Linked DNA regions of Homo sapiens: region 2 is linked to region 1. Evidence: promoter capture Hi-C in human tissues and cell types (Jung and others, 2019). All regions are on one chromosome and are shown on one strand. Each heading gives the region's core, a stretch centred on a gene start or on the middle of the fragment in contact. The rest is flanking DNA. Distances are from core to core; before and after follow the strand shown.

Region 1 (6,053 bases), core at 1,054-3,553:
TACTTCCCACAATGCTGGGATTACAGGTGTGAGCCACCATGTCCAGCCAAAAAGTTCTTCTACAGATGGGATCTCACTATGTTGCTCAAGCTGGTCTTGAACTCCTGGGCTCAAGAGATCCTCCGGCTTTGGCCTCCCGAAGTGCTGGGATCACAGGTATGAGCCATGCTGCCCAGCCAAGACAATATTTTTGACAACCAGGTTTTCTTGAGAGAGAGGATTTTCTAAATTTCTTCATTTCCCTTTGAATTGTTGTCATAGAGTTCTACATCAGATACATCCCAGCCAAACAGGAAAAAAAAAAAAAAAAAGAAGACAAAGCGTACATTTTCTGATTCTAGATTAAGGGGACTATGGGAAGAAGTAATCTCAGCTACTCGGGAGGCTGAGGCAGGAGAATCGTTTGAACCCAGGAGGCAGAAGTTGCAGTGAGCCGAGATGGCGCCACTGCACTCCAGCTTGTGCAACAGAGCGAGACTCCATCTCAAAAAAAAAAAAGTGCTTAGAATAGTGCTTGATACATAGTGGTATTATTATGAGCGGTGGGGTGATAGATATTACTGGTAGACTTTTTAAGGAGTGCTGAGAAGAGTGGGTTCCAGGTCTCATTTCCATTCAGGAATGTGGAAGGAGATCACCTCGCAGACTGCCCTGTGTCAGTTGGAGCAGCCACATCAGAGCAAACTCTGCTGGAAGTGGGGCTGAGCTTGCCTTTCCCCTGCCCTTCGTCAGCAGCCCTCAGTCCCCATGTGCCTAAGGGGGCTCAGGAGCACTGGTCAAGCATCTCACAGGAAAATTTCGAGGGGCTTATCTTAGAGATGTGGGCCACTGAGCGGATACAGTGGGATGGGGGCACATACAAGTCAAAGCCAGGTCTCAGGATGGTCCACATTGCCACGAGCCAAGGTAGCGCAGACAGCAAGGGAGAACACTGGATCTCAAAGGCAGAAAGAGAATCACCCATGAGTGACTCTGGCCTAATATCAGACATCAGCCACCAAGGCCAGCAGAAGACCCAGGAGCAGGACCTGTGTCTCCTCAGCAGTCAGCAATTCGGGCGGGCCCGTGGGCCCAGCAGCTCCAGAACAGAAAGGAGCCGAGATGGAGAGGCCACAGGATAGATGCAAGAACCGTCCCCACCCCGCCCTCCTGTGCACCTAGGTGCCATCTTCTGCAAATCCGAAAGACTGAGCATTGTGTCTAAAGTGGACTGTTTACCATTTAAATGATTAAATCCAACTATGCTTCATAGATTAGACTAAAATATGGCCCCCATCCAATCATCCAACCCTCCCTCGCACCACTGTCCAGAGGGATGGGAACTTATAAAGGCATTTCATAGAACTGAAGAAATCGCCTTTTTTTTTTTTTACATTTGAATGTGGTGAGGGTAAACGTGTTGACTCTGCCTGTCTTCCTCCTGCCCGCACCTCTTCAAGCCCTGAATTGGATTACAGGTTAACACCCTGCCATGCACGTCTACAGACATACCCACACCCACACCTGCACAAGCTTGTGTCTAAACCTTGCTTCAGGAACAAGCCAGAAGAGTTTTGGGCTCTAAGGTAAACAGGAGAGGAAAAAAAAAACTTTCTAAAAAAAGACTCCCTCCTGGTAATTTTATTTTAAAAGTAGGGAGAATACCACTGTTTGCATAAACAAGCTTCGAAGGTACAACTACTCCCTGCTCCCTCTATGGCTAATCAAGGGAGGAGTTGAAGGAATCAAACAATCCGTCAGTAAAAACGTATTGTTCACTCACTTTGCAGAACAAAGCCTATGCTTTGGAGCCTATTAGGTAAACTACAATTTTTTTAAAAACTTTTAGGGATATAGGGAACAAAGCAAAGAACAACGGAAATCCCTCTGCCTCAGTATTGAGACTGTGCTGGAGGTCACTCCACCCGTGGCGACTGGGGACTGGACCCAGCGGTGAAGTCAGATAGCGTTGTCCTCAGGCTGTTTTTCAATTTGCTTGATAAACATGCAGGATTTCTTTGCCAGTCATAAAGCTACTAGCTCAAAGCAGGCTGGGTGACCTCAGATGGCTCCGCTGGGACTGGAAGGTCACTGGAGCCACTGGTGAAAATGATGCTGTCACTACCAACTCAAAAGGTCACCTATCAGTGTGCCATGTGCCACCTCCTGGAGCACACACATGTGCACACACATACACTCACACGTGTGTGCAGGTGCACACCTCCCCCAGAGGCTGCAGCCAAGACGGGCATCCCACATCAGAGGGATGAATGGCAGGTCTGTCCCGCCAGCTGTGTGCTCTCTCCCACCCGAAGAAAGCAGCAGAGACTCAGACGGCGGAGCCTGGAGGAGCCCACGCAGTCTGTTCCCGGCACCCGGTGCGTGTGAAGGGACTTGAGGGCAGCGAGATGGAATCAGCAAGAGAAAACATCGACCTTCAAGTAAGTTCTCTCTGGAAGAGAGCAGAGGGGAGACCGGGAGTAGAGGTGAAGCTGGAAGAACAGAGGATTGATACTTTAGTCACTTGATATTCTCCCTCCCCGTTCTCTTCTTACTCACTCCCTTCTCCAAATGCTCCCTAGGCTTTGTCTCTTTATTTTCTCTTTCTCTCTGTTTCCCTATCTGGTTCTTCACTTGTTTTGAAATATCTGAAAAACAGATTGGTTAACTCCCTTTTGGCCTCTGCTTCCTCTTGTCAGTCAAAGAGCTAATTAGATCCGTATTACCAGAAAATGATTTCACATTCTGAGCAGTGCTTTCCCCAAACCCCAGGACAGTAGAGACTTCTCTTAGAGCTGCCGGGGAGACAGGAAATATATGAGTTTTGAGGCTAGGAAGAGAGGCAGCTGGCCAACTTTGCATTTTACAGGTTGGAAAAAACTTGAGCCGTTTCTCGGCTGTCTTCACAAAGCTCTACTGTGTAGGACAGAAAGCGTCTCATTTGGACAGTGCAAGGAAAGGAAATCAGTCTAATCTCCTAGGAAGAGGCAGAGATGTGTGTCCCTCTGTAGCTGGGATGGGCTTGGAAGGCATCAGAGGTTCCAGTCCACTGCTGGAGGGGAAAGGGTGGGATGTTACGGTGAGAGGAGAGCCAGATTGCTGGGAGCTGCACTCTGTGACTCCTTGCCAATGGATAGAATAGAACGAACCCTTCTATGACCACTGCTGAGGCTGTGTAACATTGCAGAGAATCAAACAAAGTGTGGAAAAGGACTTTTGAGATCAAGAATTTCTGATCCCTGAACCTGGTCCTCGAACAAAATCTTAAGCAGCCACCCAATATACACTTCGGATTAAAGAAGAGCTGTTTTGTTGAAGCAGAGTATGTGCACGCGTCTCTCTCTCTCTCTCTCTCTCTCGTTCTCTGTGTGTGTTTTGGGCAGGGTGGCGTGAGTCTGGCAGAGTCTCTGTCCTTGGCCCCTCCGCCCTTGAGACACCACCAGGGAACTGTAGGACTGCTTGGTGTGCTGTGTCAAAACCATTCACCTAGTACAACTGCATACCCAGTGCTGTTTTCCTGGATTGGCAGCCAGCCCCGAGAGCGGTCCCACCGCAAGGCTTGCTTGTCCCTCTGTCTGGAACCTTCTTTCCCTGGCTTATCTCCTGGCTGGCCCTTCCTAGTACATTCAGGTCTCAGCTCAAATGTTACTTCCCCCAGGAGCCCTCCCCTGACCAACCTCTTCACAGGATGCCTCCTCCCCAATTTGTCTTTATCATTTGTTTAATTTCTTTCATAGCACTGCTCACCACCTAAAGTTACACTGCTTATTTATTTAGTATGTATTGCCTGTCACTCTCACTAGGACACAAGATCTCTGAGGGCAGGGCCTCTCCTGTTTTATTCACTGCTGCAGCCCGAGTGCATGAGGCAACTCTTGGTACACGGTCATTGCTTTAGAAAACATTTGTTAAATGAATGAGTTGAGGAAGCCATGAGTTGGAGAGGCTCTGAGATAGGAATAAGGTCACCTAATTGGCCCAAGACCTCCAGTCCATGTCTTCTGTCCCTAGTATGTGTTTTCTTCTTACTTCTAGTTCTTGCCTCTATAAGATCCTTGGTTGTTAAGGAAATTGTGTTGCTGCTTATTTTCATTCTCAGAAGAGCAAGTTTCTTATGTGCTGATGGGTTGAACGATCCAGAGTTACAGGCTAAGGACTCTGCATCTGAACCAGAGGTTCAGAAGGAAAGAGGTGGTGGGAGGAAGGAGAAGGAAATGACTGGCTAGGCTGGATGAATGTCTCTCTCTAGCAGGTAACTGAGGTGTTAGTGTACCTTTCTCTTCATTTGTCATTCACTCTCTTCTAATATGCTATTTAATTCTTGTATCTTACATTTTCCTTTGCTCAGAAGGTTATCCATTATTTTCTACAATTTATTGTCCACCTTTGGCTGGGCACGGTGGCCTACGCCTGTAATCCTAGCATTTTGGAGGCTGAGGCAGGAGGATCACTTGAGCTCAAGAGCTAGAGATCAGCCTGGGCAACATAGCAAGACCCTATCTCTATTAAAAATTTAAAAGTAATTAGCTAGGCATGGTGGCATGCACCTGTAGTCCCCACTACTCGGGAGGCTGAGGTGGGAGGATTGTTTGAAGCCAGGAGTTCAAGGTTGCAGTGAGCTACAATCATGCCATTGCACTCCAGCCTGGGCGGCAGAGCCAGACCCTATCTCTAAAAACAAAACAATAACACTCTTTAGTTAAAACAATGTTTCCCCAAAATGTGGTACAATTATCACCAATGGGTGGTAAAGGTACATCAATGGCTGACAGCTTTTTATTATAATGTTTATTTTTACAGTTTTTTTTGAGATGGAGTCTCACTCTGTCGCCTAGGGTGGAGTGTAGTGGCAAAATCTCAGCTCACTGCAACCTCCGCCTCCTGGGTTCAAGTGATTCTCCTGCCTCAGCTTCCCAAGTAGCTGGGATTATAGGCATGTACCACCACACTTGGCTAATTTTCATATTTTTAGTAGAGACAGGGTTTCATCATATTGGCCAGGCTAGTCTTGCACTCCTGACCTCAAATGATCCACAAGCCTCGGCCTCCCAAAGTGCTGGGATTACAGGTGTGAGCCACCATAGCTGGCCATCTTTATAGTTTCAGTATTCATTAGAAAGAGCATAACAGGGCCGGGCTAGGTGGCTCACGCCTGTAACCCCAGCACTTTGGGAGTCTGAGGTGGGCGGATCACGAGGTCAGGGGTTGCAGACCATCCTGGCCAACATAGTGAAACCCTGTCTCTACTAAAAATACAAAAATTAGCTAGGCGTGGTGGTGTACGCCTGTAGTCCCAGCTACTCAGGAGGCTGAGGCAGGAGAGTTGCTTGAACCTGGGAGGCAGAGGTTGTGGTGAGCGGAGATCGTGCCACTGCACTTTTGAGACTCTGTCTCAAAAAAAAAAAAAAGAAAAGAAAAAAGAAAGAAAGCATAACAACTTATCAGACCTGTGATTCCTTTTTTTTTTTTTTTTTTTTTTAACAGACAGGATCTTGCTGTGTCACACAGGCAGGAGTGCAGTGGTGCAATCTTGGCTCACTGCAGCCTTAACCTCCTGGGCCCAAGTTATCCTCCTGCCTCAGCCTCCTAAATAGCTGGGACCACACATGTGCACTACCATGCCCAGCTAATTTTTTTTTTCTTTTTTTAGTGATTGGGGTCTCACTGTATTGCCCAGGCTGGTCTCTAACTGCTGGTCTCAAGTGATCTTCCTGTCTTGGCCTCCCAAAGTGTTGGGATTACAGGCATGAGCCACATGTCCAGGCAATTCCAACATTTTTATTGCTTAGGATGAGCCTCAAGTAAGTGGCAGGAAGTTTTTTGACACCTTTATACAGTCCTTGCACATGACCTGGGCATACCCTCAATGTCTTAGTAACTGTTTCTGTCTGACCTGTTCAGAAGTACGGCAGCCCTGGGTGACATGGATCACAGGTGTGTGTGCCCGCACCTACTACTGCACTGAGACGTTGAAACCCTGAACATGGCACAACTGAAGTTTGGGAAACTCTAATCTAAAATAACATTAACTTGAGCCTCTATAATCAATGTTGCAAATGTATCTCCAGGTCAAG
Region 2 (5,862 bases), core at 2,259-4,758, 900 kb before region 1:
AGGAGCTCAGTGGGCCTGAGGGCAGAAGTGCAGCTCTCGAGGGGGATGCTGGCTCTGCAGTGGGCATGTGGTGCGCCCTGCCCTCCCTTGGCTCTGTGTGAGCCTCCCTTCCTTTGCACAGGGGACTCTGGGTGAGTGGCACAGCCTTCAACAAAAGTGGCTCTGCTCTTTGGCAATAGTCTTTTCTGTGGGACAGCATAAAATGAGCATTAAACAAACTTCGAGGATGAGCTATGCTCAACAGCCATAAAGAACCAAGTGGTGCCGGGAGCGGTGGCTCACGCCTGTAATCCCAGCACTCTGGGAGGCCGAGGCGGGCGGATCACAAGTTCAGGAGATCGAGACCATCCTGGCTAACACGGTGAAACCCCATCTCTACTAAAAACACAAAAAATTAGCCGGGCGTGGTGGCGGGCGCCTGTAATCCCAGCTACTCAGGAGGCTGAGGCAGGAGAATGGCGTGAACCCGGGAAGCGGAGCTTGCAGTGAGCCGAGATTGCGGCACTGCACTCTAGCCTGGGTGACAGAGCGAGACTCCGTCTCAGACAAAAAAAAAAAAAAAAAGAACGAAGTGGTTTCTTATTTAGCATATGAGAGCGTGGGGTTGAAGAGGGAAGAAGGAAGAGGAGAAGCCTGGTGAAAAGGAGAGGGAATGGGAAGGAGAGGGAGAGAGAGAGAGAGAATTAGAAAACATCAGAAATTAAGTGGATAAAATAAATGACCACTTCACAAACAACCACTACCTTTCCTCAACCTGGAAAGGAAAATGAAAAGGAGAAAAAAGAGAAGCAAAACAAGCATTGATTATATAAATTTGCATGTACAGAGATAAAGGTGCACCAGCTTTTCCTTTTTGTTCTGTAAAAGCTTCAATATATTCTTTATATCTCAATCCTATGAAAATACTTGTGAGATTATAATTATGCTTATATTATTAAAGATAATTATTCTGGGTTATTCTCCATGTCTCAGGACTGTGCCTTTTGCTGGTCAGCCTAAAGTGACCTGACAGAAGCACAATTTATATCTGAAGTGGGTTTTTTGTAGACAACACAGAGCTGGGTCTTATTTTTTGACCCACTATGACAATCTTTTTTTGTTTTTTGAGATGGAGTCTCTGTCACCCAGGCTGGAGGGCAATGGCGTGATCTCGGCTCACTGCAACCTCCACCTCCTGGGTTCAAGTGATTCTCTTGCCTCAGCCTCGCGAGTAGCTGGGATTACAGGCGCCCGCCACCACGCCAGGCTAATTTTTGTATTTTTAGTAGAGGGGGGTTTCACAGGTAGTATGAGTTTCTTATAACAACACCATAATCCTAATTCCTCCCCTCATCCCTTGTAATATTGTTGTCACTCATTTCCCTTACACATAAGTATATATCTAAGGGTACATAATTGAATACATTGTTGTTATTACTTTGAACAGTTATCTGTTAGATTAAGAATAAGAAAAATAAGTTATTATTTTGCTTTCACTTATTCCTTCTCTGCCCTCTTTATGTAGATCTAAGTTTCTGACCTATAGCATTTTCTTTCTCTCTAAAGAATTTCTTGTAACATTTCTTGCAAGGCAGATCTACTGGCAACAAATTCCCTGAAGTTTTGTTTGTCTGAAAAAGTCTTTATTCTCCTTTACTTTTAAAGGATAATTGTGCAGGGTTCAGAGTTCTAGGCTGGTGGGTTTTCTCTCTCCACCCTCACATCTCACTCCACTCTCTCCTTGCTCACCTGGTTTCTGAGGATAAGTCAGGTGCATTTCTTCCCTTTGCTCCTCTACAGGTAATGTGTTTTTTTCACTCTGGCCCCTTCCAGGACTTTTTCTTTATCTTTGATTTTCTGCAGTTTGAAAATGATATGCCCAGGTGTAGTTTTTCTGGCATTTGTCCTGATTCTCTGAGATTCCTGGATCTGTGGTTTAGTGTCTGACATTAATTTGGAGAAATCTGTCATTACCATTTCAAGTATTTCTTCTTTCTCCTCCTCCTGGTATTCCCATTACACATGCTACACCTTTTGTAGATGTCCCACAGTTCTTGGATATTCTGTTCTGTGTGTGTGCGCACGTGTGTGCGCGCGTGTGCGTGTGGGTGGGTTTTCTTTTCCCTTTTCACATGTGGAGGTTTCTATTGAGATAACCTTATGCTCAGAGATCCTCTCCTCAGCTGTGTCCAGTCCACAAATCCATCAAAGCCCATCAGCGGCATTCTTCATTTCCGTCACCGTGCTTTGCTCTCTGTCACTTCATTTGGTTTTTTCTTAGATTCCCATCTCCCTGCTTTCATTGCGCACCTGTTCCTGCATGCTGCCTACTTTATCCATTACAGCCCCTCACATTAATCAGAGCTGCTTTCAATTTCCCGCCTGGTAATTCCAGCATCCCTGCTGTCTCTGAGTCTGGTTGTGAAGCTTGCTCTGTCCCTTCAACATGTGTTATTTGATTCTTATTTCATTTTATTATTATTATTATTTTTGAGACAGAGTACCACTCTGTCGCCCAGGCTGCAGTACAGTGGCGCGATCTTGGCTCACTGCAACCTCTGCCTCCCGGTTCAAGCGGTTCTCTTGCCTCAGCCTCCTGAGCAGCTGGGATTACAGGTGCTTGCCACCACGCCCAGCTAATTTTTCTTTTCTTTCTTTTCCTTTTTTTTAATTTTTATTTTTAGTAGAGATGGGGTTTTGCCATATTGGCCAGGCTGGTCTCGAACTCCTGACCTCAGGTGATCCGCCCGCTTCGACCTCCCAAAGTGCTGGGATTACAGGCGTCAGCCACCGTGCCAGGCCCTATTTGCCCTTTAGTATGTCTTATATCTTTTTCTTGATAGTGGCTGTGACCGGGTAAAGGCAGCTGCTGTAAAGAGGCCGTGAGTGTGCGGTGGGAAGGTCTACTCTATAGTCTACAATCAGGCCTCAGAGTTTTGGTGAGCTTGCACCCCTCAGCTGAACATTCACAAATGAGTCTCCGTCCTCCCTCCCGCCCCCACCTTAAGTGAGCCGGGAGATGGCTAGAGTGGGCTGGCGTGGGAGTTTCCCTTCCCCCAGGTCAGTTAGGCGCTGATAAAGCCGCGGTGGGGTTAGGGGAGGCGACCTCGTTAGGAAGAGCAGAGTGCGGCAGTCTCTTTCAAAATGGTCCTTTTTCTTCTTCCCACTGCAGGAGGCACGAGGGGATTTTTCTCCATTATTCACTGTGAGAACTCGGGGAAGCTCCAGAAGGTGAGGGAGAGGGGACAACGACATGGTTCCCGTGGATCTTTAACTTCCAGACTTGCCCGCTCTGCGCCTCCGGCACTCTGGTGATGACAGCTCAGGTTTCCCTGCCTGTCACTGCTCGGGCAGAGGCTGCTGCCCAGGGCTTCTGCTCCGGTACCTTGTGAAGCTGCATTCTCCTGCCGGTTTCTCCAGTTCTGGGGACAGTGGTTTGCTCTGAGACCTCGCTTCCTTTATGGATCCAAGGAGACTTGCTTTTTCAGTCTGTTCAGCTTTTTACTTGCTAGGATGGAATTGCAATTTGCAAGCTTCTTCGACAGGAAACTACAAGTTCCACACTTTAATTTTATACATATAAATATATACATGTGTACATATATCTATGTACAGGGGTATTATATATATACATATAAGATGATGATATATATAATGATGATATGTATTACTGAGAACGTAAAATATCATTACATAGTGATAGCTGGACACACAAGGAATTCACAACTCCCCAAAGAAAATACATCTGGATGACCTGCCTAGCAGTTTCCCCATGAGATAGAGGAATGTCTACGTATTTCATTCCCTGTTCCTGCCCTGAAACAATTTCAATCACTGACAAATCATTATCATTCATTAATAATGTTTACTGAGTGCCCATATGTGAAAGAAATCCACTCTACATTCCACAGATGCATTTCCTCTCCCCACGGGGTTTCCATTTTAATGGGAACAATGTAGAATATATCTGTCTTCCCTTTATAGATTCCATTTGGGTTTTTTGTTGTTGTTTCTTGTTCTCTCTCTCTCTCTCTGGTCCAGAGGAATAATTTCCTGGTTTTGTAAACTAAACCGGATCATGTCACTTCCATGAATCAGGGAATACTTAATGAAGGAGTAAGGATTTACAGAGGACTGGGGATAAGAGATGGAGGGAAGCTGAACAGAAGGCAAATGAAACTGGTTGAGCCTCTTCAGAACACACAACAATTCCTGGTGGTGAGTCAGTGTGGATGGGGGAATGGGACACCTTACATGGGGATCAATGAAGAATCACTGGGGTCAAAAAGAGCACATGTCAAGAAGATGTCAAACTGATGACAAGCAAATATTGCCCCAGTATTACAATTCCTGTTGCCCCATCTCAAAATTACCCTGTCAGTTTGATGGGATGAAACTCTCAGACCCCGTTTCATACCACAGACACTGAATCCCTATTCCACAGCTTAGGAAGTCCGAAGAAGTAGACGGTATGTGTGTCTTCCAAAGCTGTCTACCAGAGATGATCAAGGTGTTGGAGAACTTTTGTCTCTCTTAATTGTTCTGGTAACTGCTGTGTACAACGAGGCTAAACACTCACTGATAAGAATTCTCTCCCTGCTGCCCCAATGCAACTTCTAGATTGTACACTAGTACAAGAGTCCTAACGCAGTAACTTGCCTACACGCAGAAACTGGCTGACCTGGGCTTTGGGTGTAGGAACCCTTCCTAAAAACATGAGTATCATCCAGGAGTCTAAACAATTTGATGGGTAGACCTTATATTGAATTACAAAGGTTTAGGAGTAGGAATTAGCTAGTCCAGTGGTTTTTTAAAAAAAATGTTTTTAAAGAAGGAGAACTCTATTTTTCCACTAAAATCATATGTTGAAGCAAAACAAATAACATTTATGTAGTTGAAAATTGGGTAGGAGAGGAGATCTCCACTGGCCCCTAAGTAAGAACTGTCTCAAAGTTCTGTCTCGAAAACCACTTATCTAGCCCAATTCCTCAATTTTTATTGTTTTTTGTTTGTTTTTATTTGTATTATTTATTTATTTATTTTTGAGACGGAATTTGACTCTTGTCACCCAGCCTGGAGTGCAGTGGCACAATCCCCGCTCACTGCAACCTCCACCTTCTGGGTTCAAGTGATTCTCGTGCCTCAGCATCCTGTGTAGCTGGGATTATAGGCACACGCCACCCCATCCGGCTAATTTTTGTATTTTTAGTAGAGACAGGGTTTCGCCCTGTTGGCCAAGCTGGTCTCCAACTCCTGACCTCAGGTGATCCACCCACCTTGGCCTCCCAAAGTGCTGGGATTACAGGCATGAGCCACCGTGCCTGGCCTATTTTTATGTTTTTAAACAAGGTGTTGCCCTGTCACCCAGGCTGGAGTGCAGGGGCACTATCATAACTCACTGCAGCCTTGAACTTCTGGCCTCAAGCAATCTTCCCACCTTGGTCCCCCAGCAGTGCTGGGGTTACAGGCACGAGCCACTGCACCCTGCGCAATCCCTCCATTCCTATAGGTGAGGAAATGGGAACACAAAGAAGGCAGGTAAATTACCCAGGGTTACGGGACTAGGGGTAAATCTGGTTCCTGATGCTTAATCCTTTGCTCTTTCTACTATAACCCCCATCTCTGAGAATCTATTCTGAACCCATGGAACTACACGTGGTGATCTTAAGCCACAAAAATTACTGACACAGTGTTTTCATTAAGGACTCCCCCTGCCCTGTCCATTTCCTGAGAATGAGAGGTTTCTAGTTCTTTGTACCACATTAACTCCAATTGGTAATTCTGAATTCCTTCTTGGCAGAAGTAATATAGATCAGATTCCATTAAATGTATTGCTACAGAGAAAATTTACTTTTTAAAAAAATTCAAACCCAGCTTATGGTC

Evidence for each region. Contacts are between HindIII fragments. The study calls those that stand out against the background at their distance.
Region 2: a contact is called between a fragment that was not itself captured here and the fragment with the promoter of NINJ2 in region 1, in 1 of the 25 tissues and cell types used here (dorsolateral prefrontal cortex).

Annotation. Positions count from the first base shown.
Region 1 is chr12:659,695-665,747 of GRCh38, reverse strand. NINJ2 (ninjurin 2) reads left to right here and starts at 2,303. Exons shown (of 4, transcript NM_016533.6): 1 at 2,303-2,420. The coding sequence starts at 2,388. The HindIII fragment of the contact is 21,671 bases long and covers 412-6,053 here.
Region 2 is chr12:1,564,100-1,569,961 of GRCh38, reverse strand. FBXL14 (F-box and leucine rich repeat protein 14) reads left to right here. Exons shown (of 2, transcript NM_152441.3): 2 at 3,152-3,969. The coding sequence ends at 3,214. Among named protein-coding and RNA genes, the nearest start is that of FBXL14, 28 kb to the left of the region's middle. The HindIII fragment of the contact is 3,741 bases long and covers 1,638-5,378 here.